7 separate regions of the Homo sapiens genome follow, and all the other regions are linked to region 7. Evidence: promoter capture Hi-C in 16 types of primary human blood cells and fetal thymus (Javierre and others, 2016). All regions are on one chromosome and are shown on one strand. Each heading gives the region's core, a stretch centred on a gene start or on the middle of the fragment in contact. The rest is flanking DNA. Distances are from core to core; before and after follow the strand shown. Region 1 has its middle 110 kb from the start of PROK2. Region 2 has its middle 140 kb from the start of PROK2. Region 3 has its middle 7.0 kb from the start of EIF4E3. Region 4 overlaps EIF4E3 (eukaryotic translation initiation factor 4E family member 3). Region 5 overlaps PPP4R2 (protein phosphatase 4 regulatory subunit 2). Region 6 has its middle 61 kb from the start of PROK2. Region 7 holds the start of RYBP (RING1 and YY1 binding protein).

Region 1 (2,700 bases), core at 194-2,693, 560 kb after region 7:
ATCTCCTAGGCCAAAAGTGGGCAAGTGACTCAGGCCTGATCCATCTCAGGACCTCACCCAACCAGCAATGGCAAGTGGTCCATTTAGTATGACAGAAACTAGGAAGGACCAATCAGAGCCCTTCCCAGAGAAAAAATACAGATGTTGTGAGATTAAGGATGACCAGTAGCTACTGTGTCAGCTGGGAGCAACAATGGCTATCTTCCCACAGAATGGAGGAAGCCTTTTCTATGGCAGCCTGGGAGAATGAAGAAAGCAGAGGCAGCCAGCTAGGAGAGAGAAGGAGCCTGGAGACAGGGACCACCAGCTCTTAACTCTGAGGGCCTGCCTCCTGCACATCTGCCTTGGATTTTAGGGACTATCCCAGGATCCTTCCCAGCTATCTGAACCAGCACCTTCCCTTTTTGCCTACACAGTTTGAGGTAGAGTTCAGTTTCTTACTCTGAAAGTCTTGGCTGTTAGGCCCCTCAAAGTGGCCTTCCTAGAAGTTGCCCAGTAGAGACTGTAATAATGTCTTCCAGGCAGAGTTCAAACTCAGGCATCCATGGGACTTGGCAATAACTGCCAATTCCTCTTTGTAAGCTTCCCCAAAAAGAAAGGGGGGATCTAGGCAGAAAGAACCCCAAGAACCCCAGAGTTCCCCTGAACCAAGATTCCCAATGAGCCAAATTCCCCTGTCAAGGCTGGCTCAGAGTACCTTGACACTTCAGTCATAGCGAAGGTAAATGCCCCAGGCAAAGCTGGCCCAGAAACCAGGAGCTTGCTTTATGAGAACCGCCCTGCAATACCCAGAGTGAGAAGAGAGAACAACTAGAAACAAAAGTCTTCCCTTTTCTCTGTATTCCCATTTTTAAAGTGTGAGTTTCTCAACTTTGTTTTTAGACTATGGTTAACCTTTTTCATCACTGGATAAGAAGGAAATAAAGGGCTATTTTTGGAGGTATGATGCTTAGGAACATTGTCTGTCCTCTGTATTCAAAGCGAGGCAGCGTGGCTATGAAGGTTTCCTCAGGGTGTGAGAGATCAGCTTGACAGGGCTGGGCTGTCATCAGGAATGTTTCACACATAGGAAAAACTTTTGAGAAATCACTTTGGTTTTGTTTGGCCAAGAGGGTTCATGAAGCAAAGACTGAGTCTTTTCAAATCACTTGAGCCCAAGAGGCGGAGGTTGCACTGAGCTGAGATCATGCCGTGGCACTCCAGCCTGGGTGACAGCAGTGAACCTTGTCTCAAAAAAAAAAAAAAGTGACTCTTAAACAGAACTCCCCTTAGAGGACCTGTCATAGCTAGGAAGAGTAGGGGACATTCTCAGGCACATGCTGTGTCAGCATCCTGGACAGAGTTGGATAGAATTTAGCTTTCCTGGCTCCCCACAACCCCCATAAGTAGGCTCCCTGGGTGTGTGTAAAACACATTGCAGGCAGGCTGCACTTGGAGAAATCCTGGCCACAGGTGGGATTTGAGGGCCTCCAGAGACAGCCCTTCCTTGGATAAGATCCCATCTACCTGCCAGCAGCCATCTCAAGCTAATTCTTTTTTTTTTTTTTTTTTCCTTTGAGATAGAGTCTCGCTCTGTCGCCCAGGCTAGATAGGGTGCAGTGGCGCGATCTCGGCTCACTGCAAGCTCCGCCTCCCGGGTTCATACCATTCTCCTGCCTCAGCCTCCCGAGTAGCTGGGATTACAGGCGCCCGCCACCAAGCCCGGCTAATTTTTTGTATTTTTAGTAGAGACGGGGTTTCACCGTGTTAGCCAGGATGGTCTTGATCTCCTGACCTCGTGATCCGCCCGCCTCGGCCTCCCAAAGTGCTGGGACTACAGGCTTGAGCCACCGCGCCCAGCCCAAGCTAATTCTTAAACTACCTCCAGTGGCCCAATCTGTAAAGCTCTCGCGTGAACTCTAAGTTTCCTTTTAAAATACAAGTGTTTTGAGAAGAAGCATCTTTGGCTTAATCATGAAGTTCTTAGATTAAATCTAAGCTCCCAAGTGTTGCAGTGTGTCCATGAATTTTTTTTTTTTTTTGAGACAAGGTCTTATTCTGTCACCCAGGCTTTATGTATCTATATAGGGTATACATATATAAAATATATATGGAGATACATACAGATATACATTTAGATATATTCATACATATATATGTATATATGTATGTATCTCCTGTTGATTCTATTTCTCTGGAGAACACTGACTAATATTCCATCCAGCCCCAGCCCAGCCACCATCTTCTAACTTCTGAATACATCCAAGCAAGCCTAGACCAGAAGAGCTTCCCAGCTGGTGGTTGGTGCTTGAGCACCCAAGCTTTGTCCACACCCACCACCACCACAAACAGGTGCCCTTTTGTCAACTCTTGGATCTGGAGGTGAGGTGGATGGACCTGGGGAAAAGGGCTGTGTGGGCCCTGGATGTGGACTTGGAGTCAGCAAGCAGGAGACTCCAAGACCCAGGGTACTCAGAATGTGATCTCCAGGTGGTCATGGGCTCCAAGTGGGCACCGTTCCTTGTGATGCAGAAGCCTCACCCCACAGTAAGGGGCCAGAGAAGAGAAGACCAGGGCTCCCTCCAGCAGTGCTCCCCAGTGCAGCCCAAAAACCAGTGCCAGTCCAAGAGCAGTCTGTTTCCCATCTGTGACAGGGGATGAAAAGACATTGAGACACTCGCATAGCAGTTTCAGAATTGAAAGATCTTCATCCAAGCTTGT
Region 2 (2,700 bases), core at 94-2,593, 520 kb after region 7:
ATTCATTTGATGACCAAACCTGAGCCTAAACTAAACTCATTCATCCCGACTCTGTCTGGCATAATGTAACTTAATCTATTTAGTCCACTTAATGTGAATATTAATGTTTTCCTGTGTAGAAGGATTAATGAGTTCAATGATCGGTGTTAAATAATAAATGGCATACATAGAGTATTGCCTTTCTAACATTCAAAAAATCCTAAATTTCATAACACATCTGGCCCGAGTGTTTTTGTTTGTTTGTTTGTTTGTTTGTTTGTTTTTTGAGATGAACTCTCACTCTGTTGCCCGGGCTAGAGTGCAGTGGCGAAATCTCGGCTCGCTGCAACCTCCGCCTCCCGGGTTCAAGCAATTCTCCTGCCTCAGCCTACTGAGAAGCTGGGACTACAGGTGCCCGCCACCACACCCGGCTCATTTTTGTATTTTTAGTAGAGAGAAGGTTTCACCATGTTGGCCAGCCTGGTCTCGAACCCCTGACCTCAGGTGATCCGCCCGTCCCAGCCTCCCAAAGTGCTGGGATTACAGGTGTGAGCCACTGTGCCCAGCCTGGCCAAGAGTTTTAGATAAAGGATTGTAGTTACCATATATAAGCAAGAAGTTCTGAAACAGCAGGAGAATTTGCTCTAACTAGGGGATTGTTTTAGCAGATAAAAGGAGAATCTACTTCATGCAAAAGACAGTAAACTTATGGACCTCATATTTCTTTTTTTTTTTTTTTTTTTTTTTAATCATTCTTGGGTGTTTCTCACAGAGGGGGATTTGGCAGGGTCATAGGACAATAGTGGAGGGAGGGTCAGCAGATAAACAAGTGAACAAAGGTCTCTGGTTTTCCTATGCAGAGGACCCTGCGGCCTTCCGCAGTGTTTGTGTCCCTGGGTACTTGAGATTAGGGAGTGGTGATGACTCTTAAGGAGCATGCTGCCTTCAAGCATCTGTTTAACAAAGCACATCTTGCACCACCCTTAATCCATTTAACCCTGAGTGGACACAGCACATGTTTCAGAGAGCACAGGGTTGCGGGTAGGGTCACCGATCAACAGGATCACAAGGCAGAAGAATTTTTCTTAGTACAGAACAAAATGAAAAGTCTCCCGTGTCTACCTCTTTCTACACAGACATGGCAACCATCCGATTTCTCAATCCTTTCCCCGCCTTTCCCCCCTTTCTATTCCACAAAAACGCCATTGTCATCATGGCCTGTTCTCAATGAGCTGTTGGGTACACCTCCCAGACGGGGTGGTGGCCGGGCAGAGGGGCTCCTCACTTCCCAGTAGGTGCGGCCGGGCAGAGGCGCCCCTCACCTCCCGGACCGGGCGGCTGGCCGGGCGGGGGGCTGATCCCCCCACCTCCCTCCCGGACGGGGCAAATGGATCATAGAAAGTATAAAATAAATAGGCTCAGAGAACATTTTCCTACCTTTATGGATGATAAATCAACAAGAGGTTAATAAGAAAGACTTAGGGCTACCCAGGATGCCACCACTACATTTATAAAGTTAGTATCACAGAGAATAACTAGCATCTACTCCCATAAGGCCAGTGGCATTATTGTTTTTGATAACAAACATATATTTATATGATGCTTCGGATTGTATCAGGTATTGTTGCAAATGCTTTCTCCTTTAATTCTTGTAAGAACCATGATGAATGGATGTTGGCATTCCCAATCTACAGCCAAGGGCTTCAAACTCAGAGAAGGTAGGAAATTTGTTCAAAGGCACTCAGCCAACATTTACACATAGGGCCTGGATTAGGTTCTTCTGAATCTGAGATCTGTGATCTTATTTTCAACAAACAATAACATTCTTGGATGAAGGGTAACAACTTTTAAAAAGCCTGCTACAAAGAGGCAGCACGATAAAATTTATCTCACAAGCCCAGTCCAACTCATAAATTGTGGCTGAATGACATCCTCAGTTGAGGATTTCAAAATTGTTTCGAGGCCTAACAAGAACTTTGATAATTTACCAGGCCTGACAAGGACTTTGACTATCTATTAGCTTTGATTACCAAGGTACAAAATGGAAGCATGGCAAATGGGTGGATTGCTATTCTTTTTTAATTATACTTTTATTTTTTGGAGATATGGGATCTTGCTATGCTGCTGCCCAGGTTGGTTTCAAACTCCTGGCCTCAAGCAATGCTCCCACCTCAGCTCCCCAGAGTGCTGGGATTACAGGCATTAGCCTTTATGCCTGGCCCTACTGTGCATGTTTAAGGGTTGACTTTACTTTGTTTCATTTAGTCAACAAAAAAACGTCCCTTAGGTGTTTACTGGGTGCAAGGCACTGCAGGATGCTGAGGCTGGCTAGCTCTATGAAGGCTCAGTCCCTGCCCTCGAGGAACTTAGAAAAGTCTCACTGCTGCTCCAATTGTGTAGGAAAAGTGATGCGTGATGCAATAATACTACAGACCCACAAGCCCAAAGAGGGACTTGGAGAAGCAAAGTGAAGATGGTGCTACCAACATAGTCTAGACTTCAGAAGAGAGTGTGTTCTCCTACAAACCACATTAACAGCTCGGGCTTTGGAATTGTACAGGCTTGTGTCCAAAACCTAGTAACTAGAGTGACACCCAGGAAGGGGCTTAGCTTATCTAGATTTCAGTTTCTTCATCTGTTTGAAACGGAAGAAAAAAGGAAATAGCGACCTCAGAAATTTGTCCAGACTTAAAACAACTTGTAGGAATAACAGCTATGATT
Region 3 (2,700 bases), core at 71-2,570, 710 kb after region 7:
TCATTATTCAGATATTTATTGACTTCCCAGTACATGAGCAGTACTTTATAATAGTCTCTGAGGACCTCAAAGGTGAGCTCCCCACCCCTCAGGAAGCTTGGGTTAAATATGGTACAGGGAAAGATGGTACAGGAGGTCTTTTTGCAGCCTGACTCATAACCTCCTAATATTTTGCCAAATCAGCTTATATTTTCTGTATCAAGATTTCTTATGTCATAAATATGATTATTTCAGCTTAAAATAAAGCTTCGGAAAGCACAATACACTTCCTCAGAGAACTGGCTTACAAAATGTTCCCCTAAATGATCTATGAACCGTAAATGAAATCCCCAAAACAAAATCTTATCCTTAAAGCAGCTTCTTAGATGTAAACAAATGACTTGCTTGCTGTTGATTTATCCCACTAGGCGAGCAGTTATCAGCTCATAGTGGGGATTAGAGGCCTCCAAGATGGTTGCTGAAATCCTCTGGAACAGGCAGTGCTCCAGGACCCGCTCCTTGTGTATCTACCGTTCGGGTTTTCCCAGGACCAAAGGGTTTTCTGGGACTCAGAACTTTCAGTGCTCAAATTGGAACAGTCCTAGGCAAATTGGGACAGTTGTTCACTCCACCTGTCTCTAGATCCCCAACGAGCATACAAAGGAGGACACTCGTATTCAAAAAGCAGAGAAGATGTAGGGTTATCCCCTCCAGGAACTGTGATAAGGAAACGAGAATCAACACTTGGGTGACCTTTTTTTGACTTTTATGTAGAGCCTCACCAAATGTTCCTGATTTGATCCTTCAGGCAGCACTGCAAAGCAGGTGTTATTGGCACACTCATTTTTTAATTGAGAAAAAAGGAGACTCAGAGGTTCACCGATTTGTCCCAAAGCACATGGCTGTTAGACATTGGCTCAAGCACATGTTTTTGGACTTTCCTCTGATCACATTGCCTCCCTACTGCTCATCGTTTCCTTTCTTTTAAAAATTGCTGAAGACCAATTTGAGGCCTGCCGGCTCTCCCCTTCAGTCCAGTTTCTGATGTAAGCTATCTCTGTATCTCTGATTGATTGGCTGGCCAGGAATGTTCAGAACTACTCTTTGATAAGAAGCCAGTGATTGGCAGAGTGTTTATTACAGGGTTGCACATGATAGCCACAATCACTGGTAATAATCTGTGTGCCTAACAGGAGGAGTTGGTTATACAAATCATTACTCCTCCAATCAGTGGAATTCTGTGTGGCCACAACAAAGGTCTTTAATCAGAGCTCTTAGACTGGCCACAAAACCTATATACTGACATCGTTGGGACTTTTTTTTTTTAAATCAGGGAAGAGATTTTTTTTTAAATCAGGAAAGTAGTTTGGGCACTGCCCAGCTGTGTCTCTAGAACTCTGTGAATCTCTTGTCCCTATCTGGGGTGTGTTTGGTGACTGATTCCCTGTGAGGGAACTTGGCCTGGCCCTTGAAGGATGGTTAGACAATTTAGATGGTCAGAGGAGAGAAGAAAGGTCTCAGGCAAAAGTGTGGAGATATGAGTACATATGGTGTGTTTACCAAGTGGGGAGTAAGCCCATCATTGATTCAGTAAAGCTGGGTCTCCCATGTGCCAGACACCGTGCTAGGAACCCAGAAGACAGTGGTGGAGGGGGTGGGCCCAGGCCTGTCTTCGGGAGCTCATGTTGTGGCAGAGCTGAAAATGCACCAAGAAATAGGGACAAATCTGTTTGGAATATATATATTTCCATGTATAGCTGTTTCTCCAAATATATAGATTTAACATATATATTCCAAGTATATGTAAATATAGGTGTATAATTATATCTCTCTAAATATATTTGGAAATATACTCGCAAATGCATTTGAAAAAGGGGGTCAAGGTGTGGACAATTTCAAAGGCTAGATTCCAGATTTCAGACCTCAGCCTGTGAGAAACAGGCAGCGCTTTAGGGCTTTTGAACAAAGAAGTAATAGGACAAAAGTGCTTTTTAGGAAGACCAACATGCCGTCCATGAGAAAGATACACTGGCAGAGGAGAAAGACAAGAAATTAGGAGACAAAGTCACAGACTCTTCCTTTCAACCAATATCTGCTGTATACCCAGTTTGTTTCCTTAATAAATGTTGCTGGTGTGCCAGCCATGGACAGGCCCTGCACTAGGCACTGGGTGGACAAAGGTGGACAAGAGAGGCCTGGCCCTCCCCACTTGGACTGGATATTCTGTTTCGGAAGATCGGCAGTTGATGTGTGCAGCTGACACGTGCACTGAAAAAAATAATGAGGAAGGGGAGAAGACCTGCTTTAGAGTGGAGGCCTAAGGCAGGAGAAGGAGTCAGCCATGCAAGCGGAGGGACTAGCAGTTCAGGAGAAAGAACAGCATATGCAGGTGCCCTGTGGCCACAGAGAAGCTTTGAGGCAGGGGGAGAGATCAGCCATGGATTTGGAAAGGCAGGAAGGATCCAGAAGATGCCAAGTACTGTTGGCCACCAGAAAGAGTCTGGGTTTTTTTCTGAGAGCAGGCAGAAGCAAACCAGTGTTTGAGGACTGTTGTTCAGGCTGCTGTCTGGCAGGAGATGAGAGGGTCGGGTGTTAGAAGCAGGGAGACCCGTTAGGAGGCTGTTGCAGTCCTCCAGGCCATGCTTGGCTGACTCAGGAGTGAGGACTGGGAGTGGCTGGCACCAGTGGGAATAAAGAAGGAAGAGCAGGCTAGGCACTGTG
Region 4 (2,700 bases), core at 132-2,631, 740 kb after region 7:
GTTGCAGTGAGCTGAGATTGCACTGCCCTCCAGCCTGGGTGACAGAGTGAGACTCTGTCTCTCTCACACACACACTCTCAAAAAAAAAAAAAAAAAGAATGAATTAGAAGTTAATAAATGAACCACTTTCCTGAGTCACAACAGACTGCTCCCGTAAGAATTCTGTGGGCTGCACATTCTCAGTGGGGGCCAAAGTTGATTCTTGCAGGGGAAGTAGATCAGTGAACAAATCTCATTCTTTTTACGTACAAAGCATAGATGTCCATGCAGTCCATAAACATACGGTGTCTCTGTGGTATTAAAATTTCGTCATAGGTGATTAGGAAAAAGGGTTCTTTTAGGGCCTAAGGGGGGAACAGTGAAAAAAATGGCTGATAAACACTGCCCTAAGGATCAGGAAATTCCTTTCTGTCTCAGCTGTCTCTGCTCCCTCAGTTTCTCATCTGTAAAACTGAGGTAGTAATAGTGCCTACTCGCTAAGGTAGAGTGAAAGTTAGATGAGATGGTATATAGTTCTTAGTAATGCTTGGCACTTAGCCCTCAGATGTGGCCAGCTTTTACTTAAGTGTTACTGGATTCTACCCCTCAGCTCCATCAGTTACCTGGCTAGGGTGTGGGCTAGGGTTGTCACAATGCCTTGGTTGATGTCCCATATGTGACACTTACTAGCTTGGACAAGTTATATAACCTGTCTGAATCTCAGTTTACTCATCTGTAAGATGGAAATAATTGTGATGGTAATTTTATCATGCTGTTATGAGACTTAAATGATACAATGAGGTAAAAAGCCATAGTAAGTACCCAATCATCTGCCATAATTTGTCTACTTCTACTGAGATATCTTTTCGTGCTTTCTTCAGTCATGTTTTATATCAGGAAACTATATACCACTGCTTCTAGATTATTTATTTCAAGTGATTATACTCTGGATCGCACCACCACTAACACAGAGGTGTATGTAAAGATATTTAACTTATCAATAACTTTTGAGTTTTCAGCCTGCGAGTGTCCATAACAGCTGATAAATTGTCCTTAGTATTTAAGAACTGGCCAGGATACTATCTTGTAAGTAATTTGAGGATATGCTTTTGTCCCACTGTCTTTTTATTTTATTCTAGGATTGTATATTAATTTTTTTTTCTTCAGAAACAGGGTCTCACTTTGTCACCCAGGCAGGAGTGCAGTGGTGCTATTATAGCTCACTGCAGCCTCAAACTCCTGGTCTCAAGAGATCCTCCCACCCCAGCCTCCTCCCAAGTATCTGGGACTATAGCCATGTGCTACCACACCCAGCTAAATTATTTTATTTTTTTTGTAGAGATGGGGTCTTGCTATGTTGCTCAGGCTAGTCTCGAATTTCTGACCTCAAGCTGTGTTCCCTCCTTGACCTCCCAAAGTGCTCAGATTACAGGCATGAACCACTTTGGCCTGTACGTTGATCCTTTTACTCTCACTCCATTAGCACTAAAAAAAACTGCTTCTCCAATTATGTCTGTGTTTTCCTCCCATATGTGTTTAGATGAAAGGTAAAAATCATGTGATATTAATGATTGTCTTATTAAAGACATATGAGTCTTTTTATACTTTGAGGCCCTTTAGCAAATCAAAGTAGATGGTTTGGGAGAGGAATCGTTACCCCGTCTATTAGTTGAGGAGACTGAGGCTGGAGGTAAGAGGCCCAAACATTCCATGATTGGAAAGAGCCAGTCATGCCTTGCCTCTAGGACTAGAATTCCCTCCCAGTCCAATTCTCTTTCTTTTACTCCCCGTGATTGAGGAGTGGAGGAGACTCAGCCTCCAAAGGACCTGGGAACCCCTGCTGAGGACACTTTCATCACACCTAACAATAATTCTCTCTGCCTGGAGTTAAATTCATTTCTACTTTCCTAACTTTCTTGGAAAATTCCATTTTACATCTAGGCGTATTTTCCAGATGCTTATTGATTCTCTTACTCCTTTGTGAACCTGTCCAAATTTTCCACATTTCTCTTGTGATTTTGCATCCTCAGTGGTTGCAGTGCAGAATAGAAAATGGCTTTTAGCCGGGTGCATTGGCTCATGCCTGTGATCTCAGCTACTCAGGAAGCTGAGGTGGGAGGATTGCGTGAGCCCAAGAGTTCGAGTTCAGCCTGGGAAACATGGCAAGACCCACATCTCTGGGAGAAAAAAAAATAGAACACGGCTTTTGAACAAGCCCTGTTTTACCTGTTGGAGAATGAAGAGCTACCTGCCATTTGTGATTTGCAAGAGAAGTCTCCCTTCTCCAGTTTCTTTCAGCCTTATCTGCTACAAGACTAAAAATTCCACCCCTGAAAACTCATTCCTGTACAGCACTCTGTCTCGAACATCAGTTATTTGGTGTATCGCCTTAAAGATTTTGCCACACCTATCTCACTTGTGGTACATTCTACCCAGTATTTCTTATAACTTGACTTCTTATTTAAATTTGCATAAAACAGAAACCATATTTCCTCTATAAGTGGAAATTCAGCATCGTTTATCATAAGCAGAAAGTCTTCCTAAAGAGTATATATAACCTATTGAAATTAAGAAAATGTTTCCCCTGCATATGCCAAACCTATCCTGTGTGCTGTCGATAATATCAAGACTTCATATCCGCAGGTCAAGCCGCCTGACTGGAGTTGTGCAGTTAAGTTAGGGCAGCAGATTGCTTTCCAAACCCTTGGGAAATGAGGGCTC
Region 5 (2,700 bases), core at 103-2,602, 560 kb before region 7:
CTTTTAAATGGGGGCTAGAAATAGAGAATATGTAAAAAAAAAAAAATTTAACATTCCTAGTAATTATATTGGTGGCAGTAATATTCGCATTATTATTTTAGACTTTCTGATGTGTAATGTTGGTTACAATCAGTAATTACAAGACATCCTGATTCTATCATACCCTGCCTGTGTTCTTGAGAGAACCAGGATTCCTGGTATGCAAAAAGTTATAAAAACCCTGGGCCAGGCGCAGTGGTTCACACCTGTAATCCCAGCACTTTGGGAGGCCAAGGTGGATGGATCACGAGGTCAGGAGATCGAGACCATCCTGGCTAACACAGTGAAACCCCATCTCTACTAAAAATACAAAAAAATTAGCCAGGCGTGGTGGCGCATGCCTGTAATCCCAGCTACTCACGAGGCTGAGGCAGGAAAATCGCTTGAACCCAGGAGGCAGAGGTTGTAGCGAGCCGAGATCGCGCCACTGCACTCCAGCCTGGGTGACAGAGCGAGACTCCGTCTCAAAAAAAAAAAAAAAAAAAAAAAAAGAAAAGAAAAGAAAAGAAAAGAAAAGAAAAATCCCTGTGCACTCCCATGTTTACTGCAGCACTATTCACAACAGCCAAAATATGAAACCAGCTCAGTGCAATGGCTCATGCTTTGTAATCTTTGCACTCTGGGAGGATTGCTTAAGGCCAGGAGTTGGAGATCAGCCTAGGCAACATAGCAAGACTTTGTCTCTACAAAAAAAATTATAAATTAGCCAGGCATCGTGGCATGTACCCTATCTGTAAGTCCTAGCTATTCAGGAGGCTGAGGCAAGAGGATCCCTTGAGCCTAAGAGTTTGAGGTTGCAGTGAGCTATGACTGAGTTGCTGCACTAAAGCCTGGGCAACAGCAAGACCTTGCCTCAAAAATACATTTTTTTAAAACAAGGAACCAACCTGAGTTCCCATCAATGGAAAAGAAAATGTGGTATATTATTCAGCAATAAAAAAGAATTAGATCCTGTCATTTGCAACAACATGGATGGAACTATAGGCCATTATGTTAAGTGAAGTTAAGTCAAGCACAGAAAGACAAACATCACGTTTTCACATATGTGGGAGCTACAACAGTGGATCTCACAAAGGTAAGAGTCTAAAGACTGATGATTACTAGAGACTGAGCAAGGAACAGGAGAGATAAAAGGGGAGAAAAAAGAATATACATGTATTTATTACCACCAAACTGTACACTTAAAATGCTAAAGATGGGGCCGGGGGCGATGGTTCACGCCTGTAATCCCAGCAGTTTGGGAGGCCAAGGCAGGTGGATCACGAGGTCAAGAGATAGAGATCATCCTGGCCAACATGGTGAAACCCTGTCTCTACTAAAAACACAATAATTAGTTGTGTGTGCCTGTAGTCCCAGCTACTCAGGAGGCTGAGGCAGGAGAATCGCTTGAACTCAGGAGGTGGGGGATGAAGTGAGCCGAGATCGCGCCACTACGATCCAGTGTGGCATAGGGCGAGACTCCATCTCAAAAAAATAAAAAAAAAGAAGAAAGAAAACTAAAATGGTAAAGATGGTAAATTACATAAGTGTGCAAGTGTGCATGTGTGTGTTTGAGACAAGGTCTTACTCTGTTGCCCAGACTGGAGTGCTGTGGCACAATCACGGCTCACTGCAGCCTCAACCTCCCAGGCTCAGGTGATCCTCCTACCTCCTCCTCCCAAGTAGCTGGGAGTAGCTGGGACTACAGGCGCATGCCACCACGTTAGGCTAATTTTTTATATTTTTTGTAAAGACGGGTTTCACCATGTTGCCCAGGCTGGTCTCGAACTCCTGGGCTCAAGTGACCCTGGGCCACCTGCCTCAGCCTCTCAAAGTTCTGGGATTACAGACATGAATCACTGCACCTGGCCAGTAAATTATATAAGTATATTTTACCTAAACAAAAAAAAAACTTTTTAAAACGCTGTATTCCTCATTCTGAATTGCAAGTCTTAGTATTTTATGTAGCTGAGTAATAATAAACTTCTCTACCACCAAGATTGTAGTCTTGAAATGCCATTTCCCACTAAAAGGCAGGTCTTCTTGAGAAATATCTGATTCACATCTGGGGCAGGAAATGAGCTTGGAACATATTCTTATACCAGAGAATAAGGATACTATCAAAAACTACTAAGGTCACGTCAAAAGGACTCTGGAGCCAACTGGAAAAGGCTACCACTGACCAAATGGGAGACAACTTGACCGTCAAAAAGGATAATAATTGCAACTCAAACCCATCAAATACCTTTAAATCCATGACTGAAATGCATCAAGTGTTTAAATTCATGATTGAAACACACCATATGTTCCTGTTTATTCAGCGCATACTATATATTTAGCATGATGTCAGAAACTACATTACCTTCAGAAGAGTGTATTCTTTCCAACATAAAAACAATTTTTTGAAGTGGCCAGAAACAATTCACCTGGGGATTAATTATTTTAGTTATATACATATATAGTTTCCCTCTTCACATCAATTTAGTATGTCTTGGCATCTTTCCTAACTTCCTACATCAGATGTTTACAGGTAATTTTAATAGACTAAGAAGTAAAAATGTTCAAATTTTTCCTACGGCCTCCTCCATTTTTCCTACAACCTCCTCCATTGTAAAAGCCTATACTTACAATTCTAAAACCTCTCTAAAGCTAAAAGCAAGTGTCAAATCAATTGTCTTTTGA
Region 6 (2,700 bases), core at 106-2,605, 600 kb after region 7:
CTCTACAAAAAATACAACAACAACAACAACAACAAAATTAGCCCAGTGTGACAGTAGTTGTAGTCCTAGTTACCCAAGACACTGAGGTGGGAGGATCACCTGAGCCCAGGAGGTAGAGGCTGCAGTGAGCAGTGTTTGCGCTACCGTACTCCAGCCTGGGCGGCAGAGTGAGACCCTGTCTCAAAAAAAAAGTACTGAAGTGGAAAGGTAAAGATCATTGGCTGAAAATGTAAGTTTTAAGACAGTAAGTGGAGTGTCATCTCACACTGGTAAAGCAGAATACATACTAATATGTGTGTATATAAATACAAATATATGTACAAATACATAAAGATTCGGAAGCATATGGACGAAGATCTAACATATGGTGATTCTGGGTGATGGTAAGGTGAAGTTTTTGTTTGTGTTTCCTAATTTTCTATAAATATAAATGCACTGCTTCTATACTAGTGAAGAGGTTATTCAATATAAAAGAGATAAAGACGCTACTAAGTGTCTCGGAGGTGCCAGAGACAAGCAGCTATTTTACAGTGTTTATGCGCGTGCGTTTGTTTAGGAAATGCTCTATCCCGATAACGTTGCAGATAATACGTGCGGACAAGGGGAGACCTATGAGGCTCAGCAGCTGCTGAAAGGGTTTAGCTAATCTCGAGGATCTGGTAAGTGGATCACTTCCTTGTGACACCACAGAAGCTCCAGCCATCAATTTGGATTAGTCAGTCAGCATATCCCATTGGGCAGCATGTTCTAGAGTGTTCTAGTATGAATCATTCATGGAGGCTTCTGGTTATGTTACTTGGTTTCCCTCAGAAATAATGGCCCCAGGGATTGAATGCTGTGTAACAGAGAAAGTGAATAAATTGGTGCAGGCCCTGCCAGGTGTCAAACAAATAGGAATATATCACAGGAAAAGTGCTCCATCTATAATTAATGACAACATTTTTAAGCTTTACCAGAAATTGATAATACAGTGGTTTCTTTTAATGCATTTTCCCTTTAGTAATGTGTACATATTTTAAAGTAGGTCTAGCATTAAATATACATCAAACTCTTCTTATAGAAAAATGTAATCGTTGAATAGAAAAATATTATATTTATAAATATCTCATTGTTACATTTTATGCAATTATTCACTCTGGGTGTTCAGTGTAGAAGTTTCAGGAATATAATACTTGTCACAGAAAGCATATTCAAGACTATCAAGTAAAAAAGCAAACTTATGACTGCCAATTTTTTTGAACTTTTGGCATAATTTCCAAATTGCTACTGTCATAATAAAAATCTAGATTGCCACTAGTTTGTCTTGGAATTACATGGCTATCTTTTAAAATAAGCATATATTGTCATTTCTGAGTTACAAACCCATTTAGGTAGCTTAATCTTTCTAGCAGTCAACTGAATAATTAAATAGTAAGGTAAGAGCTTTTATTATCCCTCAAATCTGCAATTGAACATTTGCCATGAAACAAATGGATACATTTCTCTTCAGGATCCATTAGGGAGAAAGGGGAATTTTAAAACTCTTAAAGTCTAGCAAACAGCAGTTGTTCAAGTGTTAAGTTCTACCAAATAAAATTAAGTGAAATCAAATTCTCTTCCCATTTGTATACTTTATGTCTTTGTTCAAATTGCTTGTTCTGAGACACAATAGGCTGTCACACCTGTCCCCTAAATTTCCAAAACATTAAGTCATCACTCTATTGTCTAACTTCTATTAGTGCCATATGCATTCTCCCTTAAATTTGAGAGTAAACACAAGCTTTAACAAGTTCCCAAAATCATCTTATTTTTTTCAAGAGTCTCCAACAGTCAACATTGTTATCAAGTCCCTAAGAATATTATTGTTTCATTATAGTTCATTTGCAATTGATACACAATATGATTTTTTGGTTATAGACAAAGAACAAGAATGATTTTGTGCACCTTTGTATTTATAAGTGGTCTCTCAAACTGCTGGCCCAGGGATCCATCAATAAACATCCATCAGGTTTATTGAGCATAGTTATCTACAAAGTGTTTCATCTAAATGAGGAAGGTGGTGGGCATCACAGGAGGAGAAAGGCAAAGCCTTCAGAGCTAGATAGTGTGCATTGCACATATTCATTCTTCTATATACAACAAGAACTTGCAATACACCAAGCATCATGCTAGGTGTTAGAGACACAGCAGTGAACAACACAGGCACTCACGTAATTTTCAGACTGCTGGGAGCACCAGATATTTGAAGTAACTATGCAATTAATTAACTGCAATCATGAGAAGTGATATGAAATACACACATGATAAGAGTATGTAACAAGGCAACCTGACCTGTTGGGGACAGAAAATGAGGGCTGAATGGTGGGCAGGGGATCACTTAGGAAAGGCTTAACTAAGCAAAGAGAAGGAGGAGAAGGAGTTAGTAGATGAAGAGCAGAGAGTATTACAGACAAGGAGGGAACAGCATGTACTAAGGCCCTGGGGTGGGAAGGAGCATAGCAGTTCTAGGAATTGAAAGAAAGCAAGGATGGTTGAAATGCAGAGACTGAATAAGAGAATGGCAGGATATGGCCAGAAAGAAGCAGAGGTCAAGGAGATGATACAGGTCACCCAAAAGACACCATGTAAATTTCATTTTCTGGGGTTAGGTTTGAGAAAAAAGGAAAGATTGGGCCAAATAGTTAGGCTTTAATATAATAAACAACAGTGCCCCCATTTGAG
Region 7 (2,700 bases), core at 54-2,553:
ACAACCCTGGGAGGATGAGCCCCATTTTGGAGATGAAGGAGCTGAGGCACGAGGTTTTAATGCGGGCATGTGGTCGCCAGAATTTGAATAGCAACTTCCCTAAGGAAACGCCCTATTTAGACTCTAGGGGAGAGGAGGATCCCAGGAGGAGTCCGCCAGCAGAAGCTCAGAGTCTGGCCTGGGGGCATTTAGTTATGCCACGCCCTTTCTCTACTGTTCCCTCCCGCGACAGGGGCCTGACAGGGAGTGGGGCTTCGGGCCAGCGTCTCGGCCGGACGCAGGGACTTCAGAAGAGGCAAATACAAAGCTCCGCATGGCAGAGGAACAGAGGGGCGCGGGGGAACGCGGTCCAAAGGTGGACCTTGTCGGCCCCTGGGCACTGCAAGCCTCGAGGCGCTGCGAGCGGTGAGGCTGTTGCAAGCTCCCGCGGCGCGCGCAAACTGCGTGGAACTACTTCCCCGGGGCGGCTTCGGGGCCGGGGTCCCGGCAACAGCCTCACGGGGCGCCGTGCGGGGCCCGAAGCCAGTTGCCAGCTCCCGGGCGCGGCCACGTGCGCCCCGCCGGGCTTGCACGCTCCGCCGCGCCGGGCCGCGGGGCCACCGACAGGCACGCGCGCCCCCAGCGCGCACACACTCCCGGGCACGCACACCGACCGCCCGGCCCACGTCCGCCACGCCCCGCCTTCCCCCGCGCCCCGCCTCCGCCCTCGCGGCGCCGGCCGCCGCCCTCCCATTGGCCGCACGGCGCGTGACGCGCGGCGCCAGGCCCCGCCCCTCGTCAGTCACTCGGCGGAGGCGGCGCTGGCGGGGACTAGTCTCGTCCGGAGACTGTGATGGATTTAACCAGGTGGGGAGGGAGGGAGGGCGCGAGCTTGGGAGTGGAGAGGGAAGGAGCCGGCCCACTCCCCGTCGCCGGCCTCGGGCTGCCCCTGCGCGCCCCCTCCAGATCCGGCCCGCGGCTCCCCTCCCGGCCCCCCCAGCCCCACGCTCAAGTCCACAAGTCCGCCCGCTTCCTGCGCCCGCCGCGGCCCTTCCCGGGGCGCCGCCGCCACCGCCTGGTGTGCGAGGCTATCCGGCCCGGGCCCGGGGCTTGCAGGGTGCCAGTGGGGGCGCCCGGTTCCCTTCCTCGCTCTCTCTTCCAGTCCCCGGAAAGGGTGGGTGGGTGGTCTCCCGAGCGAAGTTTCCAGCACTGGATTCCTGCGAAATTACGACGGCTCACCCGCGTCTGTGTTTTGCTGTCTCTCCCCCGTTTTCCTGCTCCCTGCCTCTTCCCTCCCTTTTCCCCCACTCTCCACTCCTCGGAAGGCCAAAAAGACAAGCGAAACCTGCCGCAGACGAAGGGTTTTGGGATTGTAGCGTCTGCACCTTCAGAAACAGTGCTGAAGCCTTTAAATGCAGCATCTGCGATGTGAGGAAAGGCACCTCCACCAGGTACTTGAAGATCTGTGTTACCTTTTGTTAAAGGACTTTTTTTTTTTTTTTTTAAGTGAGAGGGTAGTGAGCCTTACTTTCTGCCCTTTTTCCAACTTGTTGATTACGGCTTTTTTTGTATTTGCGGGTGGGTTGTGTGTGTTTTTGGGTTGAGTGTATTAAGTGTTGGGTGAAAAGCCTTGTGTTCGCTAAATGATTTATGGGAGGGAATTTTTCCAGGTTTTCATTTTATTTCAAACGGACACTGGATTTATTTGACACTTGTGTCTATTGGCTTATTGGTATTGGCTGGGGAAGAGAGGAAGCAGTACTATCGCTATGGATTGTAGGACATAGATGTTTTATATTTTTGCCATGTGTAGAATGGTTTTAATTTGCCTGTCCCGAGTTACTTTTCTCTTGTCTGAGAAATTTAGTGGGGGTAGTAAGGCTGGCTGTGCTTTTCCTGTCTTGAGCTGCAAATGTCTGTTACTTTCTTGCACTTGAAAATAAATGTCGGTATTTGATAAAGTAAGTGCATTTTGTGGGAGACTGAGCTGTCAGTTTTTTTTTTCTTTGACTAGCTTATGTGGGGTGGTGATGGGGGACGATTTTGTAAAATGGTGAAATGAGCAGTGACTGTGGAAGTTTGTGTTTAAAGCTCTGTGATGATGAAAAGAATGTTGAAAGAATTCCTTTTCATTTTGATGAAGGTCGTAAACTGCATGTGATGTTAAAACGAGTTAACTACTTTAGATTTAACATTCATAAATACTTGGATAAAATGTCAAGACTCATGTAGTCTTTTGGTCATCTTTTAATTTATGTCTGAATTTGTTTCATTGGCGTTAGAGTTTGAAGTTAAACTGTTCTTGGTGTCATTTAATGAACAGGCATTGGGTGTGTGTGTGAGACAAGAATGAGTTTTTGGTGGATCCTTTAGAACATTACAGTTGATTGCCAAAAGTCTCATTTTATCAGGTACTTATTTTTGAATTGGTGACATTTCAGTGTGACTGTGTAGTAGTACTTCACAGTTCCAACTGGATATTGTTCTTTGATTAGATGAATATGTCATGTTAAGGTTTCATTGGTTTATTTATACTTGGGATTAAATAGGATTATTGGGCAACCTAAAATAATCTAACTCTGAGATTAATTGGCCTAATTATTGTTTCTGTGAATTGCACTCTTTAAATGATGATACCTTTGAATAAAAATAATCAAAAACTAAAAATATTACTCCATACGTTGTTTTAAGAAATTTTTGTCGGTGTTTTGTATTATCATG

What was found. Contacts are between HindIII fragments. The CHiCAGO score rates a contact against its expected background, and 5 or more counts as called.
Region 1: a fragment that was not itself captured here is called in contact with the fragment with the promoter of RYBP in region 7 in 6 of 17 cell types (M0 macrophages, megakaryocytes, M1 macrophages and 3 more); the score reaches 7.4 in M0 macrophages.
Region 2: a fragment that was not itself captured here is called in contact with the fragment with the promoter of RYBP in region 7 in 1 of 17 cell types (naive B cells); the score reaches 6.8 in naive B cells.
Region 3: a contact is called between a fragment that was not itself captured here and the fragment with the promoter of RYBP in region 7, in 5 of 17 cell types (naive CD4 T cells, neutrophils, naive B cells and 2 more). The highest score is 6.1, in naive CD4 T cells.
Region 4: a fragment that was not itself captured here is called in contact with the fragment with the promoter of RYBP in region 7 in 1 of 17 cell types (M0 macrophages); the score reaches 5.2 in M0 macrophages.
Region 5: a contact is called between a fragment that was not itself captured here and the fragment with the promoter of RYBP in region 7, in 2 of 17 cell types (naive CD8 T cells and total CD8 T cells). The highest score is 5.3, in naive CD8 T cells.
Region 6: a fragment that was not itself captured here is called in contact with the fragment with the promoter of RYBP in region 7 in 2 of 17 cell types (naive B cells and M1 macrophages); the score reaches 5.2 in naive B cells.

Annotation. Positions count from the first base shown.
Region 1 is chr3:71,889,041-71,891,740 of GRCh38, reverse strand. No RefSeq gene overlaps it. Among named protein-coding and RNA genes, the nearest start is that of PROK2, 110 kb to the right of the region's middle. The HindIII fragment of the contact is 1,718 bases long and covers 585-2,302 here.
Region 2 is chr3:71,927,566-71,930,265 of GRCh38, reverse strand. No RefSeq gene overlaps it. Among named protein-coding and RNA genes, the nearest start is that of PROK2, 140 kb to the right of the region's middle. RefSeq lists an enhancer at 1,579-2,444. The HindIII fragment of the contact is 6,016 bases long and covers 1-2,700 here.
Region 3 is chr3:71,731,010-71,733,709 of GRCh38, reverse strand. It overlaps a transcript of EIF4E3 not described here. Among named protein-coding and RNA genes, the nearest start is that of EIF4E3, 7.0 kb to the right of the region's middle. The HindIII fragment of the contact is 2,144 bases long and covers 249-2,392 here.
Region 4 is chr3:71,705,268-71,707,967 of GRCh38, reverse strand. All of the region lies in intron 2 of EIF4E3 (eukaryotic translation initiation factor 4E family member 3), which reads left to right. Among named protein-coding and RNA genes, the nearest start is that of EIF4E3, 19 kb to the left of the region's middle. The HindIII fragment of the contact is 4,662 bases long and covers 1-2,700 here.
Region 5 is chr3:73,000,465-73,003,164 of GRCh38, reverse strand. The region is part of intron 2 of PPP4R2 (protein phosphatase 4 regulatory subunit 2); the gene reads right to left. Among named protein-coding and RNA genes, the nearest start is that of PPP4R2, 5.0 kb to the right of the region's middle. The HindIII fragment of the contact is 3,648 bases long and covers 1-2,700 here.
Region 6 is chr3:71,844,338-71,847,037 of GRCh38, reverse strand. No RefSeq gene overlaps it. Among named protein-coding and RNA genes, the nearest start is that of PROK2, 61 kb to the right of the region's middle. The HindIII fragment of the contact is 812 bases long and covers 950-1,761 here.
Region 7 is chr3:72,445,226-72,447,925 of GRCh38, reverse strand. RYBP (RING1 and YY1 binding protein) reads left to right here and starts at 1,303. Exons shown (of 4, transcript NM_012234.7): 1 at 1,303-1,430. The coding sequence starts at 1,303. RefSeq lists silencers at 457-866, 927-986. The HindIII fragment of the contact is 10,688 bases long and covers 1-2,700 here.